3 separate regions of the Homo sapiens genome follow, and all the other regions are linked to region 3. The links are contacts of gene promoters, found by promoter capture Hi-C in blood cells and fetal thymus (Javierre and others, 2016). All regions are on one chromosome and are shown on one strand. Each heading gives the region's core, a stretch centred on a gene start or on the middle of the fragment in contact. The rest is flanking DNA. Distances are from core to core; before and after follow the strand shown. Region 1 overlaps HEXIM1 (HEXIM P-TEFb complex subunit 1). Region 2 has its middle 25 kb from the start of MAP3K14. Region 3 holds the start of FMNL1-AS1 (FMNL1 antisense RNA 1).

Region 1 (4,794 bases), core at 917-3,416, 88 kb before region 3:
ATCTCTTCCTTCCCCCCAGTAAGGCTGGAAGAGGCTCTTGGCAAACTTCTTAGTGCAAGCAATGGTTAGATTAATTTGTGAGGCAGCTCTTTAAGACGTTCAGAGGTAAGAAATACTGGATTTATAAAGCAAATGGCTGTTTGGGGGATTCCAAGGATTTACCTAATTGTCCAATTCTACGTGCTCTCTATACCAAAACAAAAAAAAAAAGCTATCCACCTTTCCATGTGGGTCAAACTAAAATTAGAAATGTCCCCTCACTGCAGATCAAATGTAAAGCTTCCAGTTAAGGAGCTAAATGAGGTCCTCAGCTGAATGAGGAACCCTGTACATCCCCTTGCACAGCCCTATTCTAAATCGCTTAAACTATGCTGATAGCTGCTTAGGTTCTTGAGTAGTTCTGCTCTTAAACGTAGGGAGGCCCTGAGAACTAAATTTTGCCCCAAAATAAAAACAGAAATTATGAGATTGCCTCCTGTCATTTTGGTTAACCCAGTCCTTCACCTGCCCTGTGTCAGTGTCTTCTGAGGGCAATTGCGTTGCTCAAATCACTAGCACAGAGGTTCCTTAATTTGGGGCCTTAGAAACCATTGTGGGCCTTGGGGTCCATGAACCCCATGAAATTATTTGTAGACTTGTATGTACATTTTTCTGGGGAGAAGGTTCAAGAGATTCATAAGATTGTCAAACTCCTTGAAGGTTCAGAACCTCTGCAGGGAAGGGGGAAGAAAACCCTCCCATTAGGAAGCATGCTTTTGCAGTTAAATGGCGATGGTGGAGGTGATAGGGACTTCAAGAGTAAAATGCACCTTGTATTGCATAAGAAGCATACACAAATCAATAAATCAAGGGAGATTATACCAGTAGGACTGAATCAGGGCCTTCAAAGCTGGACTGAGTTGGTCCTGTTCTGGCACATATGGTCCACTGGAGACAATGTATGATTGAGTTTTTCTTTGGTCTAAAAATTATATTAAACATTTATTTTGAAATAGTTTTCTTCGTGTTTTTTTCTTCTGCTATGACGTCATGCAGCAGCCCCAGAAAAACAGCTGCTTGGAAAGGCAGCAACAGTGCCCTCTGGCTTTACAGTGCAGAGCTGAAGCCTCATTTTGACTGAACTGTAAGATGCAGCAGTGATTATCTCTGATATTAGACCCTTTTTCTTTATTTTTTTTTTTTTTTGAGACGGAGTTTCGCTCTTGTTGCCCAGGCTGGAGTGCAATGGTGCAATCTTGGCTCACCGCAACCTCTGCCTCCCAGGTTCAAGCGATTCTCCTGCCTCAGCCTCCCTAGTAGCTGGGATTACAGGCATGTGCCACCACCCCCAGCTAATTTTGTATTTTTAGTAGAGACGTAGTTTCTCCATGTTGGTCAGGGTGCTCTCGAACTCACGACCTCAGGTGATCCGCCCGCCTCGGCCTCCCAAAGTGCTGGGATTACAGGCATGAGCCACTGCGCCCAGCCCAGACCCTCTTCTTAAAGAGGGATTCAGCTATGAAAATCTTATTTCCCCTAGTATTAGAAAAATGATATTTAGAAAATGAATCTTGGAAAGACTATAAATGCATTTATCATCAGAAAAAGTATGTTTTAGAAGACAAATTCAGCCCAGTCTTCAAATATACAGATATCTAGGCTGGGCACAGTGGCTCATGCCTGTAATCCCAGCACTTTGGGAGGCTGAGGTGGGCAGATCACCTGAGGTCAGGAGTTAAGAGACCAGCCTGACCAACATACAGAAGCCCCGTCTCTACTAAAAATACAAAAATTAGCCGGGTGTGGTGGCACATGCCTGTAATCCCAGCTACTCGGGAGGCTGAGGCAGCAGAATCGTTTGAACCCGGGAGGTGGAGGTTGCAGTGAGAGGAGATCGCGCCATTGCACTCCAGCCTAGGCAAGAAGAGCGAAACTGTCTCAAAAATATATATATACACAAATATCTAATTACAAATAACTCTCATACATCAATTTACCTTAAGCTATGCAAGTATGTCTGAATTTTGCTTTCAAAGGCACTAGCATTTTACCTTTTTTTTTGCATTTATATTCTCACAATGATGAGGTTTATTCAAAATTTCAGTTTTAACACTTTCTATACTTTTTTTTTTTTTTTGAGACGGAGTCTCACTCTGTCGCCAGGCTGGAGTGCAGTAGCGTGATTTCGGCTCACTGCAACCTCAGCCTCCTGGGTTCAACCGATTCTCCTGCCTCAGCCTCCCGAGTAGCTGGGATTACAGGTGCACGCCACTGCAACTGGCTAATTTTTCTATTTTTAGTAGAGACGGGGTCTCGCCATGGTTGCCAGGCTGGTCTCGAACTCCTGACTTCAAGTGATCCGCCCGTCTCAGCCTCCCAAAGTGTTGGCAATATAGGCATAAGCCACCGCGCCTGGCTTTTTTTTTTTTTTTTTTTTGAGATGGGTCTTGCTCTGTTGCCTAGGCTGGAGTGCAGTGTCGCGATCTGGACTTACGGCAACCTCCACTTCCCAGGCTAAAGCGATCCTCCCACTGCAGCCTCCTGAGTAGCTGGTACTTGCCACCACGCCTGGCTATTTTTTTTTTTTTTTTTTTTTTTTTGGAGAGACAGGGTTTCACCCTGTTGCACAGGCTGGTCTCAAACTCCTGGGCTCAAACTCCTGGGCTCAAGCAATGCGCCCTCCTCCGCCTCCCAAAATTACAGTTGTGAGCCACCAAGCCCAGCCTATTCCTACACTTTTCTTTTTTTTGGGGGGGGGGTGAGGGATGGAGTCTTGCTCTGTCGCCCAGGCTGGAGTGCAGTGGCGCGATCTCGGCTCACTGCAAGTTCCGCCTCTCAGGTTCATGCCATTCTCCTGCCTCAGCCTCTCAAGTAGCTGGGACTACAGGCACCCGCCACCACGCTCAGCTAATTTTTTTTTTGTAGTTTTAGTAGAGACGGGGTTTCACCGTGTTAGCCAGGATGATCTCGATCTCCTGACCTCGTGATCCACCTGCCTCGGCCTCCCAAAGTGCTGGGATGATGGGTGTGAGCCACCACACCCGGCCTCCTATTTCTTCACTTTCTATTGAAACATTTAACTAGCATATTGCTCTCCTGGCAGAGAAAACAATTAGTTACCTATATTTTAATTTAAAAAAAAAAAGGTTGGGCCGGGCGTGGTGGTTCATGCCTATAATCTCAGCACTTTGGGAGGCTGAGGTGGGTGGATCTCTTGAGATCTGGAGTTAAGAGACCAGCCTGACCAATATGGAGAAACCTCATCTCTACTAAAAATACAAAATACAAAATTAGCCGAGCATGGTGGCAGGTGCCTGTAGTCCCAGCTACTTGAGAGGCTGAGGCAGGAGAATGGCATGAACCCGGGATGCGGAGTTTGCAGTGAGCCGAGATCGCCCCATTGTGCTCCGGCCTGGGCAACAGGAGTGAAACTCAGCCTCAAAAAAAAAAAAAAAAAAAGGCCGGGCGCAGTGGCTCACGCCTGTAATCCCAGCACTTTGGGAGGCCGAGGCAGGCAGATCACCTGAGGTCAAGAGTTCCAGACCAGCCTGGCCAACATGGTGAAACCCTGTCTCTACTAAAAATACAAAAATTGGCCAGGTGTGGTGGCTCACGCCTGTAATCCCAGCACTTTGGGAGGCCAAGGCGGGCGGATCACGAGGTCAGGAGATCGAGACCATCCTGGCTAACATGGTGAAACCCCGTCTCTACTAAAAATACAAAAAATTAGCTGGGTGTGGTGGCGGGCGCCTTTAGTCCCAGCTACTCGGGAGGCTAAGACAGGAGAATGGCGTGAACCCGGAAGGCAGAGCTTGCAGTGGGCCGAGATCACACCACTGCACTCCAGCCTGGGCAACAGAGCGAGACTCCGTCTCAAAAACAAAAACAACAACAAAAAAACACAAAAATTAGCTGGGCATGGTGGTGGGTGCCTGTAATCCCAGCTACTTGGGAGGCTGAGGCAGGAGAATCACTTGAATCCGGGAGGCAAAGGTTGCAGTGAGCCAACATCACGCCACACTGCACTCCAGCCTAGGTGGCAGAATAAGACTCTGTCTCAAAAAAAAAAAAAAAAAAAGCTTTTTTTTTTTTTTTAAAGAATTGGGGTTTCAACAGGCCCGGTGACTCACACCTGTAACCCTAGCACTTTGGAAGGCCAAGGTGGGCAGAATCCTTGAGCTCAGTAGTTTGAGACCAGCCTGGGTAACATAGTGAAACCCTGTCTCAAAAAAAAAAAAAAAGTTGAAAAAAAAAAAAAAAGATGGGGTCTCCCTCAGTTGCCCAAGCTAGACTGCAGTGGCGCTATCATATCTCACTGCAGCCTCAAATTCCTGGGCTTGAGTGATCCTCCCACCTCAGGTTCCTGAGTAGCTGGGACTAAAGGTGGATACCAACACACCCCGCTGATTTACCTACATTGAACAGGGGGCTTTGATGATAAATGAACCCCAAGCCCACTCTAGCCTTTCACTTAAGTCCTCTGTCAAGCATTTTAACTGAGCTGCTCAAAAGACCAGGCTTACAAATTAGCAATTTCAGTTTGTTCCCTTTTTCCTACTGGGGCCTAGGTATTCAATCAGGAAAAACTGCTTCTCAAACTGACACAGCTAGCTGGACAGCTTTTCTTAGAGCCCTCAGGAGACAGGGTCCTCTAGACTTCAGAGTTTTAGGAGAGAGAGCCAGGGAGTTCCAGATTGGTTTAGTTCTGAAAAACAGACTAAGTATCTCTAAAGAGGGGAAGCATAATAAAGATTAGACAGGCCAGGCGCAGTGGCTTCATGCCTGTAATCCTAACACTTTGGGAAGCCAAGGCAG
Region 2 (5,032 bases), core at 1,377-3,876, 100 kb after region 3:
AGATGATCCCATGAAAAGTGTCAGGTCCAGGACCTGACCCAGATAACCCCCGACTGTTTTCACCATGTATGTTCACCTCAGACCCTGGCAGAGACCCCAACAGCAGCAAGGTGCCTAGCTTTGGGGCTTAGGGACATTTCCAGGGCTGCCACACCTTTCACTTCTTTCTCCTCTCCTGCCTGTCCCTCTTGGACTCCTGCTCAGGGTCAGACCTAAGGCAACCATGAATCTAATACGTCGTGTTAGTCCAGTTCACAAGCCACTTTGGCTCCATGACTCCATCGGTCCTCAGAACTACCCCATGAGGGTTGTCTTGTGTGAGTCTTCACCCCATTCTCCCAGAGAGGATACCAACCATCAGAGAGGTTAGGTACCTGTCCAAGGTCACACAGCTAGAAAGGGCAAAGTTGGGACAAGCATTTAGATCTGTCAAGCCTACCCTCAGTTGGCACTGTTACATCTGACACCCCAAAATGTTCATGCCAGTCAGTATGTATGTGTGTGTGTGTGTGATGGTTCTTGTGACAAGGTAGGTGAGAAGGACTGGAGTGACTCTGGAGTCCTCAGGACCTTTCTGGGATGTGCTGACGGGTGGTTCACAGGGGTCCCTGGGCATCTGGGCTCCTGTCTTTGCCCTGCTTAAGGCTGGGGTGGGACCTGGTCCCTGTCTCCTTGGCTGTGCTGCAGTTGCACCCTCCTTCCTGTGCCCCTGCTCCTCCTCACTGGCTGTCTCAGTGCCAACAGAACCAAAGGAGCAAAGTGGCTTAAGATAACCCTGCCATTTTACATCAAAGCTCTAGGGTCATCTTTAATTTTTACTTTTTTTTTTTTTTTTTTGAGACAAGAGTCTCACTCTGTCACCCCGGCTGGAGTGGAGTAGTGTGATCTCAGCTCACTGTAACCTCGGCCTCCTGGGTTCAAGCGATTCTCCTGCCTCAGTCTACCCATTAGCTGTGATTACAGGCGCACACCACCATGCCCAGGTAATTTTTTTTGTATTTTTAGTAGAGACAGGGTTTTACCATGTTGGCCAGGCTGGTCTGGAACTCCTGACCTCAAATGATCCACCTGCCTTGGCCCCCCAAAGTGCTGGATTGTAGGTGTGAGCCACAAAATTTTTAAGTTGTTTGTTTGTTTGTTTGTTTGTTTGAGACAGGGTCTCATTCTGTTTCCCAGGCTGGAGTGTAATGGCCCGATCATAGCTCACTGCAGCCTTGACCTCTTGGGCTCAAGCGATCCTCCCACCTCAGTCTCTTGAGTAGATGGGACTACAGGTGTGTGCCACCATGCCCGGATTTTTTAATTTTTAAAACTTTTAGTAGAGAAGGGGTTTTGCCATGTTGCCCAGGCTGGTCTCAAACTCCTGGCCTCAAGCCATCCTCCTGCCTCAGCCTCCCAAAGTGCTGGGATTACAGATGTGAGTCACTGCGACTGGTGTAATTTTTAAGTTTGTATTGGAAAACAATTTACCATCTTCAAATATATATTATCTCACAAATAGAAATATAGTGAGAAGCTGGTATTCATGTTAGATTCCAGTAAAGAAGATTTAGGCTTAGGGTGAAGAAGGATTCACAGCCCATGAGTATTATTTAAGCACAGAAACTGATGACTGTGTACTGTGCAGTGCATGGAGAACCCTTTATAAAGAACTTCCAGGAGAGACTGAATTTATCTGGCAGGGATGGTTTGGGTTAAGGTTTTAACTTCTGTGCTGTTTTTGATTAAAATCTGCCAGCGCCTCTGACTGAGTTAGACCTCTCTGATCTCTTGTTACTTTGTTATTTCCTAAGAATCTGAGCTGGAGCTGGATGACAAATACGGTCCTCTGCCCCGTCAGCCATGGACCTGGGGGATGACCTCTCCTTTGCCAGAGGAGGATGGGAGCTGGTGGGTGCTGAGACTGACAGTGGATCCACCCAGGCGGAGAGTCTCTTAATGACTCGACTTGGATCCTGTCAGGGCTCTGCCTGCTCTCTTGCTCTTGGGGCATCCTGTGGCTCTCCCAGTAGGGGAGGAGGGGGCGTGGCTGGACGCTTGCTCGAGGCCCTCCCCATACCAGCAAAGTCCTGCCCCCTTGACTCCTGAAGGTAGGCTGGCTCCTTCTCCAGGCCTCCCTTCCTCACTTCCTGCCACTCTGCTGAAACAGGCTCCACGGTTCCTGCTGGCTCCAGCCTCCCGCTGGCCTCTTCCACGGCCCTCTGCATCTGAAGCTGCACCGCATCCGGGTGTGAGTCTTCAAATCGAGTCCATTGGCCCAGTTGGTTCTAAGTTCCCTGAAGGCTGAGACTCACCCTGCTCTGCTCACCATGCTATGCCCAGCTCAGCCAGCCCACGAGAGGAACCCAGGAAATATTTGTTGAACCCATTATTGTATGGATTAATATTGTAATGTAATAAAATGATGGATTCCACAAATATTTCCTGGAAGACGGGTGTGGAAGTCACACGGACCTGGGTTCATGTTCCATCTCAGCAAGCTGCTCAGCCTGAGTCCCTCAGGCTTGTTACCTTCAAAGTGGGGGTAATCATTCCACCGGGCTCATGGGGCAGCTGTGGGGAAACTGAGGCGTGCACATGCAACAATTAGCAGAATGCCGGGTGGGGCAGAGTACACACTGAAGGGATAGGAGCCACTATGATGAGACTCCCTCTTGTGCTGGGATGGTGAGGGCGAGGGCCCAGGATCCATCGTACAGGCGGATGCATGGTGAGCAGAACACGTGTGAGGCGGGGGGCCCGATGTGCCTTGGGATGGTAGGAAAGAATTCATCCCTGCCGTTGACACTGGCTAATATCATGTCAGATGGGCCAGAGAATATACCCTAGTGGTTGCCTATGGAGGTCGGCGAGAGAGGAGACGCGGCTAGCACAGGAAGAGGGGAGAGAAGGAAAGGGGGCACCAGCCAGGCAGACCAGGCAGGGTAGGTAAATCAAGCAATCCTCCCATCTTGGTCTCTCAAAGTGCTGGGATTATAGTTGTAAGCCACTGTGCCCAGCCTTCTCAGATTCTTTCCTGCCTTGCTAGGAGGGTGGGGAGCAGAGCAGAGGGGCTAGGCCCTGGGGGTGGGTAGGGAAAGAGAGACAGGCTCTGGCATCTACACCCAGATCCTAACCCCAGCTTTGCCACTGTGTGAATATGGACAAATCACCCTCTTTCTCACCCTAGGTCTCAGCTCCCCCTCTGTGCAGACACACTGACAGCCACATGTGGACTTCTCCCCCAGCTGCAGCTGGGAATCGGCCTCCAGTCAGAAGCAGGACAGGGAACAAGCATGGTGGTTTTGGTGTCATGGATTCAAATCCCAGCTGGATGACTCTGCTCACCTCACCTGCCTTTCAGTTTCCATGAGCTGCTATATAGCAGAGTGGTCAGGAGCACAGACTCTAGAGCCCGACCCAAGGTTAATCCCTGTTCTGCCACTGACTATGGGAACACAGACAAGGCACTTCACTCTGGGCCTCAGTTTACCAGTCTCTTAAATGGGGATGGATATAATCATCCTCTTCTCTAGGGATATTGTGAGAGTTAAAGGAGGTAATTAACATAAAACCCTTAGAACAGTGCTTAGCGCAGGTGAGGGTCATGTCGCTGAATATAAGACACTGTCTATGCATTACACTTTTAAAGATGTTAAAATGCAAAAATGTGCACCCCTATAATTGAGGAGGTAAGGTATAATTTCGAGATACTGCATAGAAAACATCACTGTAAACTCTAAAATAATAGGCAAAACCTAAAGTTCCTGGGTGTTTTCTGTGTGCCAGGCACTGTGCCAAGGACTTACAAGCATTGTCCCATTCAACCCTATAATAACCCTATGAGGAAGGTTATAGAATCATCTTCACTTTACAGATGAGGAAACAGAGACCCCAAGACATTAAGTGATTTGTCCAAGATCACACAGCTTTGTCCACATAAATGTTGGGCATTCATCACCACAACCGCAACTGTCCCACCCCTTTTTGGCTTCATCTGGTTTAGAAATTTTTTGTTTGTTTGTTTTTTTGTTTGTTTGAGACGGAGTCTCACTCTGTTGCCCAGGCTGGAGTGCAGTGGAGTGATCTTGGCTCACTGCAACCTCTGCCTCCCGGGTTCAAGCGATTCTCCTGCCTCAGCCTCCCAAGTAGCTAGGACTACAAGCACACGCCACCACACCCGGCTAATTTTTGTGTTTTTAGTAGAGAAGGGGGTTTCAGCATGTTGGCTAGGCTGGTCTTGATCTCCTGACCTCCTGATCTGCCCACCTTGGCCTCCCAGAGTGCTGGAATTACAGGCAAGAGCCACTGTGCCTGATCTAGAATGGTTTTACTCCATGGTTCTGGAACTTGGCTGCTTGTTGGAATCACTAGGGAGCTTTAAGAAATCCTGAGACTGGGCAAGATAGTGAGACCCCATCTCAAAAAAAAAAAAAAAAGCAACAACAAATTAGCCAGGTGTGGTGGCTTGTGCCTGTAGTCCTAGCTACTCAGGAGGCTAAGATGGGAGGATCTCTTAAGCCCAGGAAGTCAAGGCTGCAGTGAACTATGATAGTGCCACTGCCCTCCAGCCTGAAGTCTGGGGCTCCCCCTCAGAGATTTATATGTAATTGGTCTGGGATGTGGTCTGCACATTTGGGATTTTAAAAATGACCCCCCTTTCGGCCGGGCGTGGTGGCTCATGCCTGTAATCTCAGCACTTTGGGAGGCTGAAGTGGGTGGATCACGAGGTCAGGAGATTGAGACCATCCTGGCGAACACGGTGAAATCCCATCTCTACTAAAAATACAAAAAAATTAGCCAGGTGTGGTGGCGGGCGCCTGTAGTCCCAGCTACTCGGGAGGCTGAGGCGGGAGAATGGCGTGAACCCAGGAGGCGGAGCTTGCAGTCAGCCGAGATCATGCCACTGCACTCCAGCCTGGGCGACAGAGCGAGACTCCGTCTCAAAAAAAAAAAAAAAAAAAAAGACCCCCCTTTCAACAGCAGACAGGTGCTTCACACACACACACACACACACACACACGGAAAAAAATGACCCCCAGTGATTCTACTG
Region 3 (2,500 bases), core at 1-2,500:
GGCGTACCTGGACAATATTTTTGATGTGGGGGCGCTGCTGGAGGACACAGAGACCAAGAACGCTGTGCTGGAGCACATGGAGGAACTGCAGGAGCAAGTGGCGCTGGTGAGAGTGGGTCCTGACCCCAGCCCAGCACATCATAGGCCCACAGGGCACACGGGCCACAGGGCCACGCAAGCATGGGCACTGGGCAGCAGACAGTGTTATAATTGTGCATTGGAGGTGCTGCCTGCCTGGCCCCAGAGCCTGGCCTGAATCCAAAGCCTGAATCTGTTGGGTGTCTTTCTCAATGAGTGTGGGTGAGCACCCTCACTGACAGGCCCCTCCTCTACCCAGGCTCAGACCCCAGGTGAACTGAAATGGGTGCCTGGGGCCCCTCCCAGCTCAGTCTCCTCCTCTCCCTCCACCTCCCGCATCACTGGTACCTTGGTTTCCTCTCCTTATTTGCTTGGGTTCGAGTGCCAGGCTCGGCCCACCCTTGGCACCTGGGCTGAGCGGATCTGGGAGCCTCCCCCAGTCTTCCAGGCAGGCATGCCTGATGCCGCCCCCTCACCGGCGGTGCCAGTGCCGGGCTGCGGGTCGGGGCTCACCATGTGCTGGTGCTACAGCTGACAGAGCGGCTTCGGGACGCGGAGAACGAATCCATGGCCAAGATTGCAGAACTGGAAAAACAGCTAAGCCAGGCGCGCAAGGAGTTGGAGACCCTGCGGGTGAGGCTGGGGCGGGTGGTAGGCCAGGCGCCCAAGAACAGGCCAGCTGAGGCTTCTAGGCTTGACATCTCCCTCCACCCCGGGAAGAAGATGGAGGCTTGGTGCCAAGGAGCCTGCTGGTGGGCACTGACCCCTCCCGTGGGGTTCGTAGGAGCGCTTCAGCGAATCGACCGCCATGGGGCCCTCCAGGCGTCCCCCAGAGCCTGAGAAAGCGCCTCCCGCTGCCCCGACGCGGCCCTCGGCCCTGGAGCTGAAGGTGGAGGAGCTGGAGGAGAAGGGGTTAATCCGTATTCTGCGGGGGCCGGGGGATGCTGTCTCCATCGAGATCCTCCCCGTCGCTGTGGCAACTCCGAGCGGCGGTGATGCTCCGACTCCGGGGGTGCCGACCGGCTCCCCCAGCCCAGGTGCGCAGGAGCTTCAGGCTGGCGGGGATGCGGGGCAGGGTCTGGAGGGGAGCCCAGGGGCATCTGTGGCGGGCAGAGTTGGGCGAGGGAGGTTTGGATTGTAGGCTCGGCTCAGGTAGGAGCGCATGCGTAGAGCGGAGAGGCGGAGAGGGGCCCACCCAAGTCAAGGAGCTGACTCGCGCCTCCCCCACGCCGCGCCCTCGCTGGCTCAGATCTCGCACCTGCAGCAGAGCCGGCTCCCGGAGCAGCGCCACCGCCGCCGCCCCCACTGCCCGGCCTCCCCTCCCCGCAGGAAGCCCCGCCCTCTGCGCCCCCACAGGCCCCGCCTCTCCCTGGCAGCCCGGAGCCCCCGCCTGCGCCGCCGCTGCCCGGAGACCTGCCGCCCCCACCCCCGCCACCGCCACCACCTCCGGGCACTGACGGGCCGGTGCCTCCGCCGCCGCCGCCGCCGCCGCCGCCTCCCGGAGGTCCTCCTGATGCCCTAGGAAGACGCGACTCAGAATTGGGCCCAGGTGAGTGGAGTGGACCACCTTGGGCCCGGGGCTGGGGGGAGATGGAGGGAGGGGCCTGGGCCTCAGTGTCCTCCAGGGTCCTCTGCCTGGGGGCCTCCTGCTGCCTCCTGGCTGCCCCATCAGCCCTCCCTGGGCCCAGGTTCCCTCCAGTAGTACCCCCAGTGCTCACCACTGCCCCCAAACCCCCGTCCCAGGAGTGAAGGCCAAGAAGCCCATCCAGACTAAGTTCCGAATGCCACTCTTGAACTGGGTGGCACTGAAACCCAGCCAGATCACCGGCACTGTCTTCACAGAGCTCAATGATGAGAAGGTGCTGCAGGTGAGTGGCCCTGCCTGGCTCCCCATGTGGGCACCGGAGGAAGAGGGGAGTTGCCTGGATCAGGCTGGGCCCTGGGGGTAGTCATTTTCTCCAAGCCATTTCACAGATGAGGAGGGGGAGGCCCAGGGATGGGCATTAAGCCAGACTGGACCAATACCTCTAACAGGCAGAATCCTGCTTTCCCAAACGCCTTCCCCTCCATCCCTGCAGAGGGGTGCCTCCCCTCACCCCACTTCTTCTGCCTCCAGGCCTCTTTCCTTCCACTTTCCCACAGGCAGCCAAGGCTTCAGCCCTCCTGATTCCACTTCCAGTTTTCCAAAAGGATGTATTCTCTTGCCTCTAGGCCATTGTTCCATTCTGTTTCCTCTGCCTGGAATGTCTTTTCCTTTCTCCTTTTTACCGCTGGCCAGTTCAGCTCTTCCTTTAGCTCTTGTGGCCCCAAGTCTGGATCCCCCGGGTTAGGCGGCCCTCCTCCTCCAGGCTCCCTGTGCTTCCCCTGTGCCTCCCATCAGGGCCTGTGGTCAGGCTGGGTTACTGGTTCTCTGCTGGTGGCC

What was found. Contacts are between HindIII fragments. The CHiCAGO score rates a contact against its expected background, and 5 or more counts as called.
Region 1: a contact is called between a fragment that was not itself captured here and the fragment with the promoter of FMNL1-AS1 in region 3, in 4 of 17 cell types (fetal thymus, non-activated CD4 T cells, neutrophils and 1 more). The highest score is 6.9, in fetal thymus.
Region 2: a contact is called between a fragment that was not itself captured here and the fragment with the promoter of FMNL1-AS1 in region 3, in 1 of 17 cell types (neutrophils). The highest score is 5.7, in neutrophils.

What each region holds. Positions count from the first base shown.
Region 1 is chr17:45,151,108-45,155,901 of GRCh38, forward strand. HEXIM1 (HEXIM P-TEFb complex subunit 1) reads left to right here. Exons shown (of 1, transcript NM_006460.3): 1 at 1-992. The region is part of intron 2 of HEXIM2-AS1 (HEXIM2 antisense RNA 1); the gene reads right to left. Among named protein-coding and RNA genes, the nearest start is that of HEXIM1, 5.0 kb to the left of the region's middle. The HindIII fragment of the contact is 3,779 bases long and covers 278-4,056 here.
Region 2 is chr17:45,339,856-45,344,887 of GRCh38, forward strand. No RefSeq gene overlaps it. Among named protein-coding and RNA genes, the nearest start is that of MAP3K14, 25 kb to the left of the region's middle. The HindIII fragment of the contact is 6,243 bases long and covers 1-5,032 here.
Region 3 is chr17:45,240,520-45,243,019 of GRCh38, forward strand. It overlaps FMNL1-AS1 (FMNL1 antisense RNA 1), which reads right to left and starts at 1,251. Exons shown (of 3, transcript NR_186808.1): 1 at 592-1,251; 2 at 1-85. FMNL1 (formin like 1) reads left to right here. Exons shown (of 27, transcript NM_005892.4): 12 at 1-106; 13 at 610-711; 14 at 863-1,115; 15 at 1,328-1,627; 16 at 1,822-1,946. RefSeq lists an enhancer at 643-1,361. The HindIII fragment of the contact is 17,531 bases long and covers 1-2,500 here.